Regions from separate parts of the Homo sapiens genome. Here region 2 is linked to region 1. Evidence: promoter capture Hi-C in human tissues and cell types (Jung and others, 2019). All regions are on one chromosome and are shown on one strand. Each heading gives the region's core, a stretch centred on a gene start or on the middle of the fragment in contact. The rest is flanking DNA. Distances are from core to core; before and after follow the strand shown. Region 1 holds the start of TOM1L1 (target of myb1 like 1 membrane trafficking protein). Region 2 has its middle 400 kb from the start of KIF2B.

What was found. The method cuts DNA at HindIII sites, captures the fragments that hold promoters and counts their contacts. A contact is called where the count stands out against the background at its distance.
Region 2: a contact is called between a fragment that was not itself captured here and the fragment with the promoter of TOM1L1 in region 1, in 1 of the 25 tissues and cell types used here (dorsolateral prefrontal cortex).

The regions. Positions count from the first base shown.
Region 1 is chr17:54,899,024-54,902,353 of GRCh38, reverse strand. It overlaps TOM1L1 (target of myb1 like 1 membrane trafficking protein), which reads right to left and starts at 1,502. Exons shown (of 16, transcript NM_005486.3): 1 at 1,431-1,502. The coding sequence starts at 1,488. It overlaps LOC124904033 (a long non-coding RNA gene), which reads left to right and starts at 1,617. Exons shown (of 2, transcript XR_007065854.1): 1 at 1,617-3,330. RefSeq lists enhancers at 1,188-1,277, 1,298-1,407 and a silencer at 1,488-1,827. The HindIII fragment of the contact is 7,312 bases long and covers 533-3,330 here.
Region 2 is chr17:53,425,747-53,429,076 of GRCh38, reverse strand. No RefSeq gene overlaps it. Among named protein-coding and RNA genes, the nearest start is that of KIF2B, 400 kb to the left of the region's middle. The HindIII fragment of the contact is 3,801 bases long and covers 1-3,330 here.

The DNA of each region.
Region 1 (3,330 bases), core at 253-2,752:
CTACTGCACTCCAGCCTGGGTGTCACTCCCCGTCTCAAAACAAAAACAAAAACAAAAACAAAACAACAACAACAAAAAACTTGAATCTGGCACCGAATGGACAAAGCTTACCTCCCTAGAAAAGAAAACTCCTATTCACCCTTCAAAAGCCACGCAGAATTCATTTCTCCCTTCTCCTAAGTTTTGTGTGTTTTGCATTTTCTTGCATTGCAAAGGTGCCACACAAAACTGTGCCCGTCTTCTCTACAAGAAAGTGAGTTCCCTCAGGTTTGAGACCACGTCTCACCTTGGCCTCACCAGTGCCTGATCCAGGTCCAGGCACATAGCTGACAGTTAGTCCATGTTTACAGAATTAAAAAATTAAGCAGAAGAACTGCTGAAGTTTCGTTTGCCTATGAAGACACAGTCTGAATCCATTTCTGCTTGGGGTTCATTCTAATATCCAAAAAAGCACAGCCATTAAGGGAAAGCATCTCCTCAATGGTAGCTACTCTGACCATCTTATAAGGATGTGTAAACTAAGGTTCTGTTTAAGTGGTGTGTTCGGTGTCACAGCAGTTAGTAGAGCTGTGATCTAAATTTTCCAAATCTGGGCCTCTTTACTACAACTACTAGGTTCTCACGATTTCATCACCCCACTAAGTTCCTGACATCATCACACTTTGCCTGGCATTAATATGCACTCGTGCCACACCCAATTCCCAAGGGAGGAATCAGGGAAAAGAAGGAGCAGTGAGCTGGTGCTGGTAGGAGTCCAATCACTGGCTTCTACATACATCATGCAAGGTACATCCGGAGGAGAGAGAAATCATTTAGGTGGATGCTGGTGTAGTCCCTAGTGGCCTGCGAGAGACCTCCGTGGCCCCAGATGGCTCCTATGTTCCCCTCCTCTTCACTCCAATGCCAAGCATTTTCATTCTCTTTGTTTACCCAGAAAAGTAATCCAGGTTGTATAAGCTTGGCACTAGAGAAAACTGGTTTGGGGAGACCTGCCCCTCACAGTAAGGCCACATCACTTAGTCTCCCAGAGCCTCCTCTTCTGATCTGTAAAACGGGCATAACAATACCGTGCCCTGGAGAATGTGCCTTTAGGAATAACTTCCCCTACCGAGAAGTTTCTGGTGTCTCCTCGTGGAGGCCCAAACACTCCATGCCTGACTCCCGCGGTTCACCTGTTTGGTTCCACTCCCCAGGCGGCATCGAAAGGAAGGTACATTTTTGAGGACTGAGGTTCTACAGTGAGTTGGCCAAGAAGGAAACGACGAAAGGGGGCCGGGTGGAATGCGGGTGCCTTGGGAAAGTTGCGGGGGGAGGGGAATAATTTTTTCAAGTTGGACTAACTCCGTCCTCTGCAGGCCGAGAATGGATCAAGCAGGAAAGGATCCCACGGTCCCCTGCCTGCCTGGGCGTCTCTCCCCGCGCCTCCTTACCTATGAGGTGGCCCACGGAGGTCGCGTAGGGATCCCGGTGACTCTTGCCAAACGCCATGGTAGCGCCAGAGGGCCGGGCCCAGGAAATCCGCCTCCACCGCTCTCCGGCTCCCGACTCCACCCGCTCGGTACCCTTGGCTCCTCCTCTTCGCCCGAGCGCTTCCCGGGCTCTGGCAGAGGCGGTGCGTTCTGCGCTGCCGCTGCGGGGCGCGGGCACCGAGCGTGAGGAGCTGGGCGCGGGGCAGGGACGCGAGGGCGGGGCTTCGGGACGCCCAGCGCACCTGCAGCGCGCCCTGCGGGACCCGCGAGGAGGCTGCGCTGCCGGCTGCAGGTGGTACAGGCGGGTAGTGGCGGGTGTATGGAGCCTGCGAGAGTGGCGCGGCCGCCCGCTCGGATCCCAGGTGGGCTTTTCGCCCCGTGCAGGAGGAGCAGGCAGCCCAGAATCTCCAGCCTGGGAATTAGAGACCCAGGCTTTGATCCTGCCGCTTGCTGGGCACCTTGTCATTCTTCTCTGCGCCTCTTTGGCTGCCCTGGGTAGACCAAAGATAATAGGGGGTTAATAACACAAACCTCAGAATTATGAGAATTAAGGGAAGGACGTAACCGATTATGTCGGTGTCTGGTACCCACAAAATAAATAGTTAGCCACTGAATATACTGAATAACTAGAAATATTTACCCTCGACCTGCCTTTGTCCTAGAGATCCGGGAGGGGAGGTGTGCGCCCTGCCCTTTAAAGTTGTGGTCATGTCTAGGAGGAAGGATTGGCTTCGAATTTAGGGCTTCCCAGGAGCAGGCCCTCTTTGTCTCTCTACTATTTCCTCGAGGGACCACAGGGCGCCGCCTCGCAAGCTCTTGTTTTCTAACCCCACCTTCTGGGAGCCGTGTTTTCCAGCCTGATTCTAAAAACGGGAGAGGGGCTTTCCGTTTCTTCTGGCAAGGAGTATGCTTGGCTTTAGGCCTGCTTTGTAATGTAGGTTGGAATCTGAGAAGCCCAACACCTTTCCAGCTGCCCCTTCAGAACCAGAATTTATTTCCTATTCCTTTGCATTCAATTAACATCTGATTGGCGATGTTAACAATCTCCAGCCAGCAGGAGCCTGCCAGAGAGTGAGGTGTCCCCAGGCGATGTCAGATAGCCATAGATGAGCTCCTGGTGCTTGTAGATCCTGTTTCCTGTAGTCTAACTGCCACCCATTTCAAGTCTGTTTTTTAGCCCTGGAGATGGTGACTAGGGAGACGAAGGGGACCTGTTTTGACTTATGTCCGTGGTCTTGTGAATTTTAATATAGAGGTCAAAACCAATTGCCATGCACTCCAGGAGGCTAACATTTAATTATCTGTAACTCAATTATTTATAATTTTTCTTGACCAAAGTGAGCCAAAACCTGGGATTCTAAAATCTAGAATGAAATATTCTTGTTGTGATGATATGTCTCATAATGGGATTTGTCCCACGTGTAACTAATATTCTCCACCTGCCTATTCAGGGCGAGTAGCTATTTCAGATGTTGCCGTTTATCAACTTCCTTACTCATCACTATAGCCTCTGCTGACACTGTTGAAAACCTCTTTTGTGACATCACCAACCTAATCTGTATTCCATGCCTCTAGCAAAATATTTTGCCTTTTCTGCAACCTAGAATCAACCTACAATCTCTGAAAAAGAAAACCAATTTTAGCTTAGGCCAATGTTGGTGTCAGTGGCCTTCTATCAGTTAATGAGAACGAGAAAGGAACCGAGCATCCAGAGAGATAGATTTTTAACATACTTCTATGTGGGAGGTTTTTCTTTTCGTCTTCTTCTTCTTCTTTTTTTTTTTTTGTTTTTTTCTCCTATGTCTGATTTCCTTACATGACAGGACTGAGGCACCGAGAAAGAGGAGAAACAGTAGCAAGG
Region 2 (3,330 bases), core at 594-3,093, 1.5 Mb after region 1:
AGTCCCTTCCACCTATCAGCCTGTAAAATCAAAAGCAAGCTAGTTATTCCCAAGATACACTGGGGGTACAGGCACTGGGTAAATACTCCCATTCTGAAAGGGATATATAGCCCAAAGGAAAGGGGCTGCAGCCCCGTGCAAGTCTAAAACCCAGCAGGGAAGTTATTCAATCTTAAAGCTCCAAAATAATCTCCTTTGACTCTTTGTCTCACATACAGGGCACACTAGTGCAAAGGGTGGGCTCCCAAAGCCAAGGGCAGCTCTGCCTCTGTGGCTCTCTAGGTTTCAGCCCCTACAATTGCTCCCAGTGGCTGGGGTTGAGTTCATGCAGCTTTTCCAGGTGCAAGGTGCAAGCTGCTGCTGTATCTATCATTCCAGGGTCTGGAATATGGTGGCCTTCTTCTTGTAGCTCCACTAGGAAGTGCCCCAGTGGGGACTCTGTGTGGGGGCTGTAACCTCACATTCTCCCTTTGCTCTGCCCTAGTATAGGTTCTCCATGAGGGCTCCCTCCTTCAGCAAGCTTCTTCCTGGACAGCCAGGCTTTTCCAAACATTCTCTGAAATCTAGGCAGAGGATCCCAAGCCTCAACTCTTGCACTCTGTGTACCTACAGGCCTTATACCACATGAAAGCTGCCAAGGCTTATGGCTTACACTCTCTGAAGCAGTAGCCTGAGCTATATCTGGTTCCCTTTGAGCCATAACTGGATCTGGAGAAGCTGGGATATGGGGAGCAGTGTCCTGAGGTGTGCAGAGCAGCAGACCCTAGGCCTGGCCCATGAAACTATACTTTCCTCCTAGGCCTTTAGGCCTGTGATGGGAGAGGGTGCAAGGAACTTCTCTAAAATGCCATCTTGGCCTTTTTTCCCATTGTCTTGGCTATCAGTGCTTACCTTCCTTTTAGCTATGCAAATTTCTGCAGCTTGCTTGAATTCCTTCCAAGAAAACAGGCTTTTCTTTACTATCACAGAGCCAGTCTGCAATTTTTTTAAATGTAAATTCCCGTTTAAGGTCATTTCTTTGTTCACACACATGAGCATTTGCTGTTAGAAGCAGCAGGGCCAAATCTTGAATGTTTTGCTGCTTAGATATTTTCTCTACCACGTACCCTAAATCATCATTCTCAAGTTCAATGTTCCACAGACCTGACGGGCAGGGGCACAGTCTAACCAAGCTCCATGCTAAAGCATAGCAAAAGTGAACAATCCAGCCATTTCTGTAACCACTTCCATTTTTTGCTCATCACTTTCGTTTTTCTGTCCATAAATAATCTTCTACTATGAAGCTTCAGGGTAACCTCTCTGAACCTCTTCTGGTTCAGGCTATCTGATTTACCAAATGTTCTTTGCTCAGCTAAACTCTGTTAAATTACATTTGTCTAAGGCTTTTCTTTTAACAAGAATTACAGCTAGTATAGTAATAAATCAGTATTGGTGTTTTGTGTTGTTTAAGAGAAAAAGAAGCATAAGCAGGTGTTTTAACCCCTAGTACAGAGAATTCAGGTCACCAGATTAAATGCCCCCTTGCAGGAAACTTTTTCTCATATTTCTAGAGGTTTCGGTCATTTATTTTATTTTGTTTATCCCCAGTGGCTTTTCCAGTTTTAAATGAAGAACCAAATACATTGTGAGGGCGGAGAAGATTTTGGAGGTTCTATGCTTTATATTTATAAGAAATGTATTGTAGAATGAACATCTCCCACTTTCAAATCAACTGTGTTAGAATTAAGGCTTTCAAGGCCCTATGACTTTATCTAGATGGCTTGAACAGTTTACTTTCAGTTCTTTAGTACTTACTGTAGCAAATTATTTAAAGTTCTACCAAATCAATTGCACTTTTATTCTAAATAGGGCTGCATATCAAACCTAAATAACTGATTTCTAATCTCTGACTTGTGTAGTCTCTCTCACTAATTATTTCTCTATAAATAGCCATCTGACTGGCTTTTTAACCCAAGCTATTTGAAAGTCTTTCCATATGTTCTGTGAAATATGACTATGTTCCTTAATCTTTTTAATGACTATTTATTTCCTGGGGTTGTCTATGCTTTCAATCTAGGAAGCTCATTCCTTAATCCTCTTGACCATTTGCTGTCCATATCTGATGGTATCCTATAGAACTTCGCTCTCTATCAAAATCACAATGACGTTTTTTTAAACACCATAATTATGCTTTCGGTACTCTAGTCTGTGTTCCTCCTCACCAGGTGTTTCAGTTCTTATGCACCTAACCCTATGCCAGCTATTTTTCTGTGTATTTCCCCTTCCTCCTCCTATATTACTATTAGAAATCTTGGTCTATTTCAGGGATTCCTAAACTGATGCACGTTAGAATCAGCTGGAATGAACTTGTGAAACAAACTTGCCTGGGACTCATCCAAGACATATTTAATCTGAGATGAGGCAAGATTAAGCAATGGTAAATTCAAAAGCTTTCCCATGTGGGAGGGGTGGAGGTGGGGGTGAGGAGGATCTGGAATGCACAGCTATGATGGAGAATCACCGCTTGATTACTGCTTCCATTCTCATCTGCTTACTCTTATATTTATCACCTGAGGTGCACAGGAAATCTTAGGAAAAAAATTAAAATGTCTGATCTTTGTAAAATCTATAACAGCATGAGACATTAAAAGTGTGACTCATGATAGAATTAAGGATTTCAGTGGTATTTAAATTGAAATATAATAATTGAGAAATACATGTCTAATATGTAGATTCAGTTTTGTTTTATGTTACATTAATAAGTTACAGAGCACAAAATGGATATTATACAAAAGTGTCTAATTAAAAAGGGCCACATGCAAATTTTAAAAATCCTTAAGGAAGTATAAAAATTATAATAAATTATTTTGTATATCTACAAACTAGAGCAAAGTCAGAGCTTTGGGATTAGATGCTACAAAGTGGTTGTGAACCAATTAAAGGCCAGGAACATTCTTCTGTCTTTATTCTCCTAGCCAAAAAGAAGTCTTGAATCTGCTTTGTCAAAGAAAGCATTTCCTGGATGATCGTTCTATTCAGTGTATTTCTGGGAAGGTCTTTGCCCGCATCGGCGTTTTATTAAAAGTGATTGATTGAGCCAAGATGGAAAAGAGGCATGTTTTAAGGATGTTTCATATTAGGCAGAGATAAAGTTCTATGTTTCCTTAAAATTGGGAAAGTAGGCTTGGAAATAGAAATCAGATTCAAATATCAAAAAACTAAGCCTTACTTTTTAAGAATAATCTTGTTCTCTAATAGGAGGCATAAAATAACAGAGAGTCACTAGGTACAAATTTTGGTATACAAATTATATAAAGCCTATTACTAATAAAAAGGAAACAGTATAGGCAT